5 separate regions of the Homo sapiens genome follow, and regions 1, 3, 4 and 5 are each linked to region 2. The links are contacts of gene promoters, found by promoter capture Hi-C in blood cells and fetal thymus (Javierre and others, 2016). All regions are on one chromosome and are shown on one strand. The core of a region is centred on a gene start or on the middle of the fragment in contact, and the rest is flanking DNA. Distances in the headings are between cores, read along the strand shown.

Region 1 (2,700 bases), core at 1-2,500, 580 kb after region 2:
ATTGTTCCTCCTTGGACTTCCTCCAAACAAAAGCTTGAAATTATAAATTCATTTCCATCAAGAAGACTATTCATCTCCACAGCAACCTAACATGCCCCAAGGAGAAGATTACTACCCCCATACTGACTTGCAGTCCTCGCTCTCCAGCAGGCTCCGGTACGTGTTGATCTCACACTCCAGCCGCGCCCGCACGTCCAGCAGCACCTGATACTCCTGGTTCTGCCGCTCCAGGTCACTGCGGATCTCCGCCAGCTGGGACTCCACGTTGGTGATCAGTCTCTGCACCTGGGACAGCTGGGAGCTGTAGCGGGCCTCGCTCTCTGTCAGCGTGTTTTCCAGAGAGTCTCGCTGTGGTGGGGAAGATTGAGAGTGTCAGAGAGCTGCTCCTTATAAGGTTCCTCCATGGGGTTCCAAAGAACTCACAAGCTCCAAGAGCTAAGGAGAGTGTGTGGCCCCAAGGGCATCCCCAAGACTCTGCCTCCCAAGTTCCCATCGCTCACCAGCAGGTCTGAACAATACACACCAGGTTGTGCTGGGCCTGCAGCTCGATCTCCAGGGCATTGACCGTGCGTCTCAGCTCGATGATCTCCGCCTGGTAGGACTGCAGCTGCTCCGAGCTGGATACCACCTGCTTGTTCAGCTCCTCGGTCTGAAACACCCAAGGGGAGAAAGGATCAGACCCTGCCTCCGGGGCCCTGGGGGGCCTCGGGTCCTGAGTGGCCACGTGCTTAGATGCCCACCTGCGTGGCGAACCATTGCTCCACTTCCCTGCGGTTGGTTTCCACCAGGGCCTCATACTGACTCCTGGTCTCATTCAGGACCTGGTTCAGGTCCACAGTGGGAGCAGCGTCCACCTCCACGTTGAGGCGGTCTCCAAGCTGGCAGCGCAGGGTGTTAACCTCCTGATGGAGAAAGGGCAAAATTTTAAATTTCACAAAGGATCTTGGTGCTCTCCTTAAGAGAATGCAATTCAACTTCTGATCATTCTTAAGCTTTCAAGAAACTTTGTTCCCTCTGATCCTGTCACTAACCAGGATCTATATTCAATGACTAATTTGTATACTCCACTTTTTACAAACTACTTTCAAGCCCATGACTTCCCTCTGCTCTTTGTATTAAATGTATCACTCCTCATTTAGAGAGATTCAGTGATTTGGGCTCAAAGCTGATACATGGTGGGCCATTATTTAAACTCTGGTCCCCAAATGCCCAGTTCAGTGTTTTTGCTAGTATACCATATAGCCTCACATGTTTGACTCTTAAGCATGGATAATAAAAAGAACAGAGTCTAGCTAAAGAGGAAATACAGAATGCTTACTTCAAAATCTGCCATCCTGGCATAGAAGAGACTTAAAGGGTGATTTGTTGATTCCACCAGCATAGATTTTGCTGAAGGCAATAAGTATCTGTTTACTTCCCTGCTAAGCATAGCTTGGTACTTGGGCTTAGGCGGATTTCAGACAAATTTGTATTCAACCTCATCTCTACCACTTAATACATTGCTTCTAGAAGCTTCTTGAAGCCTCGATTTCTTCATCTTAACATGAGAACTGCCTCCGGAGTTAAAGCACTTAGCACAATGTTTGGCACATACTAAGCACTTGATTAATATTAACTGTCACCATTTACATTGTTCTTGGATTTCAGGTTGCATAAAATACACGTCTTCTTTTTTGCCCAACTGACTTAGCCATAATGGTGAGCATTTTGCTCAAGGCTGTTTCCAAGCAACACTGAACAGCAAGCAGAAAGAGCTCTGGACAGGAACGAAGAGAATTGCATTTTGTTCTAGCTCAGCCCTCTCTGCCTGATGGGCCTAGGCCATCCTGGCTTCTCCAGCTACAAATGGAGAATTGGAATAGAAGATTGCTGCTGCATGCACTCTAACCTGGGCACAGGAGAGGCTGTGGCTTCTGCCTCATTACCCAGCTTTCCTCACTACTGGGCTTGCCAACTTCCTCACTCTCATTCCTGCCTCTGGCAGAAAAATCCTAATCTCATATCACAGGTTTTTAGATTAGTCATTCTCTACATATCCCTTTTTGTATGCAGAATTACTTCCTCAGCTAATTGAGCCTCTACTGACAGCCTGTCCTGGACCCTGTGGCAGTTGTGAAACAGGTCCTGGCTAGTCTGAGCCCATCACTCTTCAGGGAACTCACCTGCTCATGGTTCTGCTTGAGGCACAGCAGCTCCTCCTTCAGGGACTCCACCTGGGCCTCCAGGTCAGACCTGCACAGGGTCAGCTCATCCAGGATCCTGCGCAGGCCATTGATGTCCGACTCCACCAGCTGCCGCAGGGACAGCTCGGTCTCATATCTGTGATCACAGGAGGGTCAGGAACAGGCTGGGCAGGAATAGGCCTGGCCTTGACTCTGCTTTGGTTTGGTTAGTCAGGCAACTAGGAATTAGGGTTTGTAGTTTTTATAGCCATCTCTTTTGTTTAGGTTTTCAGCATCGAGCTGGAAGAAAATGCACTGGTAATTTTACGTTTAAAGATCCAGTGGATAGACTTCTATATTCCTAGCTATTCAGGAGGCTAAGGGGAGAGGGTTGCTTGAGCCCAGGAGTCTGAGGATCTGAAGTTACACTGAGCTATGATTGCACCACTGCCCTCCAGCCTGGGTGACAGAGCAAGGCCCTGTCTCTAAAAAAAAGAAGAAAGCCAGTGGATTTAGGATAAAAGCTGACAAACTGTAA
Region 2 (2,700 bases), core at 192-2,691:
CTGCAACCTCCACCTTCCGGGTTCAAGTGATTCTCATGTCTCAGCCTCCCAAGTAGCTGGGATTACAGGAGTGAGCCACCATGCCTGACTATTTTTTTGTGTGTGTACTTTTAGTAGAGACGGGGTCTTGCCACATTGGCCAGGCTGGTCTCAAACTCCTGACCTCAAGTGATCTGCCTGCCTCAGCCTCCCAAGGTGCTGGGATTACAGGCATGAGCTACTCTATCCAACCATGATAGCTCTTTTTATAACGGCTTATTTAATTCAATTTCTTTATTGATCTAGTCTGGCTTTAGAAAAACATTTTGGTTTTCAAAGCAAAATATATATTCCTTAATCCAATTGTAATATTTTAACTTTTATTAATATAATTAATCAGTTTGTTTTCACCTACTTCAGCCTGAAGTCATCAGCGGTCAGTCTGGCATTGTCATTTTGTAGAACAATGCTGGCATTGCAGATGGTCGCAGAAATAATCTAAATAGGGAAGATTGTGAAAAATGTTAATTACCAAAAGTCAAAGGAGGCTCCAGACTTCAGTGTGATTTTATATCTTCTTAATCTGTCAAACATCTGTTTTAGTATCTTTTTTCTATGTTAAAGAAATCTGGATTTTCTTCAGATAATAAGCATCCAGAGCTTAAGAGCCACATAGATACTTTTACTACTTTTGATCAAATGGTATGAGCTAAATATATGAAAAACGAAGTGACTATATCTGTTTTGAAATGATTTCTTTTTCATTATTTAATTCTACAAGATTTTATTGCCAGGTACTGTGCTTAGCACTGGAAATACAGAGTGAACAAATCTTACATCACATAAATTTGTTAGGCACATTTTATATTTTCTCTTCTTTAAATTATCAACACACAAAGTCTGTAGTAAAAGTATGCAAATCCCTATTTCTTACCTGCCTTTTAAGATCTTCTATGACTGAGAAGTATCTGCTATAGTCATGATCGTGTTCCCGGGAAGAGCCAGGCTCACATTTCTCGTACCAGCCCTTGATCTTCTGCTCCAGGTCTGCGTTGGCCTCCTCTAGAGCATGCACATGGTCCAGGTAGGATGCCAGGCGGTCGTTGAGATTCTGCATGGTCACCTTTTCATTCCCAGAGAGGAGGCTGTGCTCATTGCCAAGAAAACCAGCACAGGCACCACTTCCCAACCCTCCACCGCTATTGCAGAAGCTTCCTCCAGAAGAGATGCCCTCAAGAGTACAAGAAAAGCTGCTTCTTGCTCCCGATCCAACACACACATTCCCAGCCACGAAGCCTGTTCCTCCACCGGACAGCCTACCAGACCCAGTTCGCGAGCAGATCCTCCTGGATCCACCAGAAAGTCGAAAAGACATGGTGGCAGCACAGCCGGGCAACCCCTTCCCAGAAAGAGGAGCAAAGCCAGGGTTCACCTTCCACACTTGTTAGCTCCCTTGGCCTTTTATAGTATTCACTGGGTCATTTCAGTCTTGACTATGCCAGTCTGTAATAAAATTTACTTGCATCCTAATTGTTGTTTTTCACAATTGGGTAATTTTTAACAGCGTCCAGTCTGTAGGTGGAAAGGTGCCCCAAGGATATTTTTTATATATAAAAATGGTGCCAGGTGAAGTAAAACTAAATCATAGCCTCAAAGGCCAAAATTAAATATGACTAAATGTGCATCTTTTTGGCCACTGGAATATTAATAGAATCTAGATTCTCCCCCTGCCACATATAACAAAGAATTAATAATTCCAATGAGAAATGTCTCCTACTTTTGTCCTGTTAACGCTCATAGAGTATTTCTAGTATTCCCACTTCATTGAGTGCTTCCTTTCTTCCTTTCGTTTCTTTTTCTTTTTTCCTTTTTTTAAAGATATGTGGTCTCGCTATGTTTCCCAGGCTGGTCTCGAACTCCTGGCCTCCAGTGATCCTCAGCCTCAGCACCCAGCTCAGCCTCCTGTGGCCAGCATTACAGGTGTGAGCCACTGCCCTGGGTGTCTGGGTGTGTGTTTTCCTTCTTATCAAAACCAGAAAATCTCAGCATCTATTGATCTTTTGGTAGTGGGAGATTTTAAAAGAAATCTACCATTTCTTGAATTGAAAACTGAAGTAATAGAAATCCTGCAGTCCTGCTTATTGTTAATTTCAATATAATTCATGAATATGTGATGATGGTGGAGAATTAATTCGATTGAGATTTCTTGGTTTGGTCCAGGAGCAGGACATCAATTCAACTAACAGTCTCCAAATTGTTCACTTCCCTACCCCTAAATAGTGTTTACTGTCTTTTAGTTTAAATGTATGTATTTAAGACATTAGGAATTATTTTGAGAAGTGAGCATCATATTGATTAGCAAGGAGTAAAATATATAAGGAGGGAGGTGTTTTCATCATTACCTAGAAAACCAGTACTTATAGTACCCTAGAGAGAAGATAAGTTGTCACAGGGAAGTACTCTTTATTCTCTTGCCTTGATGCTCTTGGGAAGTTATCCAGGCTTGGATCATTTCCCTACTGGGCAAATGAAAATAATAGCATCAAAGAGTCTCAAATGAATGTTGAGCAGTTCCAATCATGAATGACGATAAGACAGTTTGAAAGGCACAAACATTTTTAAATGTTAATTATTTAAATTATTATAATAAAGTGGACATGTCAGACAGGGTCGGGTCTCTATCACCTATAATGATACAAATTGATTGGTTAACTAATTATG
Region 3 (2,700 bases), core at 182-2,681, 540 kb after region 2:
CAAGAGTCAGACTCAGTGCAAGATGGGCGGAAGTAGACTGGGCGGCAAGAGTAGGAAGTGACACAGGCTGGGCGGCGCAGGATGGAGTAGCATGGGCGATAGCAGGCAGGACGGTAGGAGATGGATGTCATGTATGGCTGCCTATAGGTGAGGAGTCCAGAGCAGATTGGGCGGCAGATCGGACGGGAGACCGGGCGGTAGGAAATCGTAGCACTGCAAGGCCGTTTGCTGGAACTGGGTATGTAGAAAGTCCTAGGACAAGTTGGTCGGCAGATGGCAGATGCAGAAGACCCTGGACTGCAGGAAAGAGGTCGGCAGGAGGTAGATGGGCAGGAAACTGGCTCAGGGCAGACAGAAGGACAGCGCTTGACTACATAGCAAGTAGGTTGGCATGGACTGGACACACAGACAGCTGGTGAGCAGGGGCTGGGCTCAGAGCAGATGGGTTGGCAGATACTGGAGACACAACAAGAAGGCTCTTGGCAAGTGCTGGGGACAGAAGGTGGCTCGCACGAGCTCTGAACACAGCAGACAGGGCGGAGGCAAACTGGCTCACAGACCAGAGCCACACACGTAGCTGGCTGGCAGATGCTAGACTCTGAGCAACTTGGCTCACAAGGGCTGGGGTCACAGCAGACAGCCTGGCAGCTACTGGTCACAGAGCAGGTAGGTGTCGGGCACACCGGCTGACAGCAGGAAGGCTCACAGACCACAGGTTGGCAGGAACTAGGCAGGGTGCAGACAGCTGAACAGCAGCTGGGCTCACAGACAACTGGCTGGCAGCAGCTGGATTTGCAGAGGACAGGCTGGCAGGAAGTGGGCACACAGAGGACTGGTTGGCAGGAAGTGGCTTCAGAGCCTACAGGCTGGCAGCAGCTGCTCACGGAGCAAGAAGGCTCACAAATAGCAGGCTCACAGCACACAGGTTGAGCACAGCTGCTCACGGAACAAGAAGGCTCACAAACGGTGGCCTCAAAGCACACAGGTTGGCAGCAGTTGCTCACTGAGCAAGAAGGCTCACAGATGGTGGCCTCGAAGCACACAGGTTGGTAGCAGTTGCTCACAGAGCAAGAAGGCTCACAGGTGGTGGCCTCACAGCACACGGGTTGGCAGCCGCTGCTCACGGAGCAAGAAGGCTCACAAATGACAGGATCACAGCACAGGGGTTGGGCACAGCTACTCACAGGACAGGAGGGCTGACGGCACTGTGGCCCACAGCTGGATGATCCACAGCTGTCTTGACAAGTCACCAGCTGCCATGTCTGGCTCTGGCAGGAACTGGGCAGGCAGATGGGGCCTCCACAGCTCACCTCAGTGGAGCAGAGAGAGGTGGCTGGCACGGAGAAGCATTTCCTAGAAGAGCAACTGCCAGACATGGTGGAGGTGGCCGTGCTTCCTTGTGCTGAGTGCTGAGAGGTTGCTGCCTCACTGTGACAGCTCCCTGAGGCCCTCACTTTTATACCCCCTCACTGGCGTGTTCTGTTTGGGACTCCTGCATCTTTTCCTCATTGTTGTTTGGGCCAGTTTGCAGAGGAACATCTTATTATACCACCGTTTGTTGATCTGGAAGCTGTTTATCTACCCGTAAAGAAGGTGTTTATTTATTGATGTGCTAAATTTGGAATCCTCAGAGCTACAGGTAGTCTTGGAAGAAGCATCCTCACCTCCAAACTGGATAATCTATATTTCTGAGCATTGTGAACAGGGAAAGAAGAATGAAACTTATGATTTATCCACCTTCTAGTCTTCCATACAGGGCCCTGGGTTGGATTCAGAGGATGCCACAGGAATAAGACCTATTCACCCATTCTCTTGGATCTCGCCTTCTAGTGGGCAGATAAGCATGCAGACAAACTCACTGCAATACAATAATAAGTTCAACAATAGACATACAGAGATTAATTGAGAGGAGAGGTGATGAACTCAGTTGGGAAAAGAACAACTGGGCTGGATTTTAAATGACTGCACCTTACAGCAATGATCTTGCTTAAAACCACCAGCAATCTCATGAGGCAGAGATTTTTCTCCACCATTAGAAATGAATAAATGGTCCAGGAACCATGGCTCACGCCTGTAATCCCAGCACTTTGGGAGGCTGAGGCAGGCAGATCACCTGAAGTCAGAAGTTCGAGACCAGATTGGCCAACATGGCAAAAACCCATCTCCACTAAAAATATAAAAAATAGCCAGGCATGGTGGCACACACCTGTAATCCCAAATGCTTGGGAGGCTAAGGCAGGAGAATCACTTGAACCTGGGAGGTGGAGGTTGCAGTGAGCCAAGATCAAGCCACTGCACTCCTGCCTGGGTGACAGAGGAAGACTCTGTCAAAAAAAGAAAAAGAAAAAAAAGGAAGGAAGGAAGGAAAGAAGGAAGGAAGGAATGAAGGAAGGAAAGAAGGAAAGAAGGAAGGAAGGAAGAAAGAAGGAAATAAAGAAAGAAAAGAAAGAAAGAAGAAAGAAAAGAAGAAAGAAAGAAAGAAAGAAAGAAAGAAAGAAAGAAAGAAAGAAAGGAAAGAAAGAAAGAAAGAAGGAAAGAAAGAAAGAAAGAAAGAAAGAAAGAAAGAAAGAAAAGAAAGAAAGAAAGAGAAAGAAATGAAGAAATGGGGGCAGAGGGTCAGAAAGTTTCAGTCACTTGCTAAAGATCACACACAGTCTGTCCCTGATCTAAGGCGGCTGTCCCTCCTTCTCACCAACCTGT
Region 4 (2,700 bases), core at 59-2,558, 610 kb after region 2:
TGATTCCCAGTGCTAGTAGCTTAGTTCTGAGGCCTGCTTTTGTGAATTTGTTTCATACCTCCTCATGGTTCTTCTTCAAGCAGATCAGCTCCTCCCTCAGGGACTCCACCTGGGACTCCAGGTCAGACTTGCAGAGGGTCAGCTCATCCAGGATCCTGCGTATGCTGTTGATGTCCGACTCCACCAACAGCCTCAGGGACTGCTCCGTCTGGTACCTGCACGTGTCGGAGTGGGAGGATAAGTCAGGAAAGAAAACCACCTTCCCCTCTCATGTGTTGTTTGGGTAGAATTGGCCTGAATCTTCTTGAACTTACAGTTTTCTGCCTCTTCTCTTCCATATGCTTCAGTCAAGCTGTCCATGGATAGGCTGAAGAGGTTCCCTGACTCACCTAACACCACGAGGAGCCCACAGGCACACATGAGATGAAGTCTCTCACTGTGTTCTCGGTTTTGTTAGCTAATATACCACCAAATCAATTCCCAAAGAACAATTCATTTCAATCTCTGAATTTTGTGGTTTAAGAAACACTTCCAAAAAAAACCAGTATAGACCAAAGAGCAGGCAGCACATGAGTCTAGTTCCCTATTTGAAACTAATTTTACATAACCAGCCCTAGGAGGAGAAATAGAGAGAAATGGCTTTCTCCTCTCTTCCAGGCAATAGTAGGTCCCTAGGGCCATGAAAGAACCATAGGGACCTTGAAGTTCAACATACTTGCTTCTGAAGTCGTCAGAGGCCAGCTTGGCATTGTCAATGTTCACCACCAGCCTGGCATTCTCAGCCTTGGCACACAGAATCTGAAAAGAAATTTCTCTCATGAGGTACACTTGAACTTGAAAATGTCTTACTGTTCAAAGAGAGCCAGCTGCTGCTGGCCCCCCATATGGCCAACCCCCTCACCTTCTGCTGGAGCTCCTCAATGGTCTTGAAGTAGGACTGGTAGCTGGGGCACAGCAAGGGCTCCTGCTGCTGGGACCGCTCCTGGATGAGTTTCTCCAGCTCCGCGTTGTCCCGCTCCAGCTGACGCACCTTCTCCAGGTAGCTGGCCAGGCGGTCGTTCAGGAACTGCATAGTCTCCTTCTCGCTGCCATTGAAGGAGCCCTCACAGAACCAGTTGCAGTTGCTCACATTGGCGGGGATGTTGCAGGCCCCAGGCAGGGTGTAGCCGTGGCAGCTGGGGGGCACGCAGGGCCGGGAGGAGCAGCTGGTGCGGCAGCCCAGGCTGGGCAGGCAACAACTGTAAGACATGGTGCTGGAACAGGTAATGGAAAAGCAGGTAAGCTGCTGGAGGTGGATGTGGGCAGGTTTGAGTCTCTCCTTCCTCTGCAGTCCTTTTATACCATTAATTGTGGGTGGGGGCTTGGCATACAGCATAGTTTCCTTTCCTAATGCTTCAGCTAATTTTTCTCCAAAATATGCTAGTTAGATGCTTCTAAAGAGTCCCCCCTCAACCCATAAAATTATTCCATTCAGCTTATGTCACACCAGGCTCTTCCTGGGTGCTAGTGGTTGGTGAAATCAGAGTTTCATCAGATGGCTTCATAGGAGATAGAATCATCACAGCCCCAAAAGGCTGTCTGCATTACTCAGAGGGGAGGACAGCCAGGGACATGGGGTGGAGTTGTTTGGGAATCAGGGATTCCTCACCCAGGAGTTTCCGCCACTGTTCTTTCTCCCCAGAGAGAGAGCTCTGAGAGAGAGCTTTGAGAGTTACTCTTCCAAGTAGCTCTTTCCTCCCACATTCATCCATGTTTCAGCATTCAATTTGTTTTTATAGCAGAAACTCAACCTGTATTCGCCGAAATGATCCTGAGCCTTACTATTCGTTGGGGTTTAGGGAACTTGCCAACACATGGAGCAACTGAAAACAATGGCATGTTCATGGTTGAGAAATGAGAAAGTAAAATGGAAACCAATGGAATGGATGGGAGTATACCTAAAAGAGGGCATCTGCAAATGGCAGCCCACACGTCAAGTTTACCCTGCTGAATTTTTGTAAATAAAGTTTTTGTTTGTTTGTTTTCTGTTTTTTTTTTTTTGAGACAGAGTCTCACTCTGTCGCCCAGGCTGGAGTGCAGTGGCACGATCTCGGCTCACTGCAACCTCCACCTCCCGGGTTCAAGCAATTATCTGCCTCAGCCCCCCGAGTAGCTGGGATTACAGGTGCCCGCCACCACACCCGGCTAATTTTTGTGTTTTTAGCAGAAATGGGGTTTCACCATGTTGGCCAGGCTGCTCTTGAACTCCTGAACTCGTGATCCGCCCGCCTCGGCCTCCCAAAGTGCTGGGATTACAGGCGTGAGCCAATGCGTCCGGCAGTAAATAAAGTTTTAATGGAACACAGCCATGCCCATTTGTTTAGCTATTGTATATGGCTGCTTTTGTGCTACAGTGGCAGAGTTGTGTAGTTGTGACAGAGACTATAGTGTCCACAAAGCCCTAAAATTAAAAAATTTGCCAACTTGTACTAAAGCAACAGCCTCTCTAAAGATGAGCAAGAGTAGAAATATCTAGAAGAAAAAATATGCTGGAAACAGTCTGGAGCAGTGAGAGTTCAGATGGCAGCACTGAAGCATGAATATGAAGCATAATACTGCAGACTCACCAAGAAACGAAAATTGGAGCAAGGGTGCTCAGAGGTATCTTTGTATCCATGGTGGCTTTTTCTCAAATTCTCTGGAAATTTCTATCATCTTATT
Region 5 (2,700 bases), core at 141-2,640, 560 kb after region 2:
GAAGCCTTGCAGCCACTGCTGCAGCCACAGCAGGTGCCACCACCACGTGCCTTCCAGCTGCCAGTGCAGGCTCTCCTGACAGCAGGGCACCCTGCAGCCCTCACCTCAGCAGCTCAGACTCTGAAGGTATCTGTTGTTCATGTTCCCAGTGCTCCCACCAAAGAGAATTACTACAGAGAATACTCTTGGTCCTGAGGTGGGCAAAACAGCATGCCCTGTGGATGGAGCCGGCTTCTTTCCCAGCCACCATGCTTGCTGGATGGGCCCGCAGAGCAAGTGGCCATGAGACGGGCATGGGGACGGGAGAGGCTCAGCATCCTGCACATGCCCTTACCAAGGCTCACCAGGCTGACACCACTGCTGAGCGCCTTGTCTGTGGAAAACAGATTCACACCCAACCCCTGGGATGGCACCATTTCCCAGAAGGACCAGCTGGCCACCTACTGGCAGGCTGACCACACTGCGGAAGGGGCTGAGATTGGCTTTCACTGCACTGAGCCACAACGTGGACATGCACTTGCCGGCCCTGCAGTGCACACAGCACTGCTTCCGACCAGGGCACCCCATTCACAGCTAGGGACAAGCAGCAGTACACTCCCGAGGCCCCACAACCCAAACAAGCTTCCCATCCTCGTTTTACTTTTTTGTTAAACTTATGAAAATTTATGAAGAAAGTGCACAGCTCTAAAGACATTAACAGATGGAACACATCAGCCCCCAGATCACAAAGCCAACCCAGCCTCTGCGCCCCCAGCCCTGCAACCAGTGTTCTGACTTCTGACAACACCATGAGCCTGCCTTTTGTACTTTACACTCATGGAAGGATAACCACGTCCATGTTTTAAAATAAATGTTTACTTTTGAAATGATTTTAGATATATAGAAAAACTGAAAAGGCATTATAGTGTACTCCGACACCTTCCGTCCAGCTGCCCCTAATAATGACATTTTGCATTACCATGGCACATTTGTCCAAATTAAGAAATTTAGGCCAGGTGTGGTGGCTCACACCTGTAATCCCAGCAGTTTGAGAGGCCAAGGCAGGAGGTTAAGGTTCATTTGAGTCCTGGAGTTTGAGACCAGCCTGGGCAACATAGGTAGACCCTATCCCTGGAGAAAAGTTAAAAAAAAAAAAAAAAAAAAATAAGGAGCCAGGCATGGTGGCGTGTGCCTATAGTCCCACCTAATCAGGAGGCTGAAGCAGGAGGATCGCTTGAGCCCAAGAGATCCAGGAAGCAGTGAGCTATGATCGCACCACTGCATTCCAGCCTGGGCGACAGAATGAGACTTTCTCTCTTAAAAAAAAAATTAAGGAATTTAACATGGGTGCAATCCTGTTAACTGAATAATAATGTTAACTATTATTTAAGGTTATTAATGCTGTCACTATATTAATATGGTGAAATTCATTCAGATTTCACCTGTTTTTGCTTAACTTCTGGTACCTGTCCCAGGATCCCACCTCGGACTCACCTTCTGTCTTTAGGTCATTCCTCCTTAGCTTCCTTCAGAGGTTGCAACCAAACACACACCTTGGCTGAATGGTAGAGCTGATTGCTCCTGGGCTCCAAACCTCTGCAGCATGTTACCATACTGAGTACCATAGGTAGTGGTAACACAATGATGGCTATTTGTGTATCTAAACACAGAAAAGAATGATAAAAATACAGTATAAATGATAAAAAAAAAAAAAAATTGGTACACCTGGCCAGATGTAGTGGTTCATGCCTATAATCCCAGCACTTTGAGAGACCATGCCGGGAGGATCACTTGAGCCCAGAAGTTCTAGACTAGTCTGGGCAACATAAAAAGACCCCATCTCTTTTTAGATATCAATTTTTAGAGATGGTACACCTGTATAGGGCAGCTCCATTATAACCTTATGGGACCACCATTCTATATGCATTCTGGCACGGACTGAAATGTTGCTATCTGACACATGATTGCATAGGTAAGTAATCTAGAGATGATTTAAAGCATATGGGAAGATGTGCTTAGGTTATATGCAAATACTGTACCATTTTATATCAAGACTGGAGCATCTGTGGATTTTGGTATTTGTGGGAGGTGGTGAAACTGATTCCCGACGTACGCAGAGAGACAACTGTAAACATTTCGGACCCCACAGAAGGCTCAATTGCCTGCCCCCTCACCCTCAGGTAAGCTTTCTAAAGTGTTTGTTTCACTTTACCTGCTCATCCGTGAGCCAGAGGGCTCCATCAACAGCTTGGGCTGTCTCAGAAAGACCTGGATTCAATCCCATTCAGCCACTTAGTAGCTGTGTCACTTTGGGCAAATCATGTAACTTCTCTGAACCTCAGTGTCCTCATCTGTAAATTGGGCCGATGGTGACCCTTACTTTGCAGGCCCCCGTGAGGACTAAGTGAGATGAAAGCTGACACCCCAAGTGACACCACTTCTCCCTTCCTCAGACTCAACAGGAAAACGCCTTCACTGCCCAATGCAAAGGCTATGGGGAGGATGAGAGGCTCCAGGGATCCCCTGTCCCAGGAGCATAAACCCTGGATTTTTGCTTCCAGAAATAACCTTCTCTAGGATCAGGATGGTTCTTAACTCCCCAAAGACTGTGAGCCCACCCTAGGCGGCATCTTCAGCAGTGGGGAAGGGGATGCACAGTGCCAGCCTCACCCTGGCCACTGTCTGCCCTCATGACTCAGAGCCCAGCTAGGTCCCCACGCA

Evidence for each region. Contacts are between HindIII fragments. The CHiCAGO score rates a contact against its expected background, and 5 or more counts as called.
Region 1: a contact is called between a fragment that was not itself captured here and the fragment with the promoter of KRT26 in region 2, in 1 of 17 cell types (endothelial precursors). The highest score is 5.8, in endothelial precursors.
Region 3: a contact is called between the fragment with the promoter of KRTAP16-1 here and the fragment with the promoter of KRT26 in region 2, in 4 of 17 cell types (endothelial precursors, M0 macrophages, M1 macrophages and 1 more). The highest score is 7.9, in endothelial precursors.
Region 4: a contact is called between the fragment with the promoter of KRT34 here and the fragment with the promoter of KRT26 in region 2, in 8 of 17 cell types (M1 macrophages, monocytes, M2 macrophages and 5 more). The highest score is 8.8, in M1 macrophages.
Region 5: a contact is called between a fragment that was not itself captured here and the fragment with the promoter of KRT26 in region 2, in 3 of 17 cell types (endothelial precursors, neutrophils and M2 macrophages). The highest score is 6.0, in endothelial precursors.

The regions. Positions count from the first base shown.
Region 1 is chr17:41,346,321-41,349,020 of GRCh38, forward strand. KRT33A (keratin 33A) reads right to left here. Exons shown (of 7, transcript NM_004138.4): 3 at 2,163-2,319; 4 at 741-902; 5 at 524-649; 6 at 128-348. Among named protein-coding and RNA genes, the nearest start is that of KRT33A, 3.2 kb to the right of the region's middle. RefSeq lists enhancers at 140-640, 641-1,141. The HindIII fragment of the contact is 520 bases long and covers 991-1,510 here.
Region 2 is chr17:40,770,760-40,773,459 of GRCh38, forward strand. It overlaps KRT26 (keratin 26), which reads right to left and starts at 1,442. Exons shown (of 8, transcript NM_181539.5): 1 at 914-1,442; 2 at 395-477. The coding sequence starts at 1,354. The HindIII fragment of the contact is 2,390 bases long and covers 1,189-2,700 here.
Region 3 is chr17:41,307,878-41,310,577 of GRCh38, forward strand. It overlaps KRTAP16-1 (keratin associated protein 16-1), which reads right to left and starts at 1,432. Exons shown (of 1, transcript NM_001146182.2): 1 at 1-1,432. The coding sequence starts at 1,376. The HindIII fragment of the contact is 10,229 bases long and covers 1-2,700 here.
Region 4 is chr17:41,380,998-41,383,697 of GRCh38, forward strand. It overlaps KRT34 (keratin 34), which reads right to left and starts at 1,309. Exons shown (of 7, transcript NM_001386014.1): 1 at 902-1,309; 2 at 716-798; 3 at 59-215. The coding sequence starts at 1,249. RefSeq lists an enhancer at 302-1,501. The HindIII fragment of the contact is 8,651 bases long and covers 1-2,700 here.
Region 5 is chr17:41,329,075-41,331,774 of GRCh38, forward strand. It overlaps the pseudogene TBC1D3P7. Among named protein-coding and RNA genes, the nearest start is that of KRTAP17-1, 15 kb to the left of the region's middle. RefSeq lists an enhancer at 467-1,036. The HindIII fragment of the contact is 1,543 bases long and covers 620-2,162 here.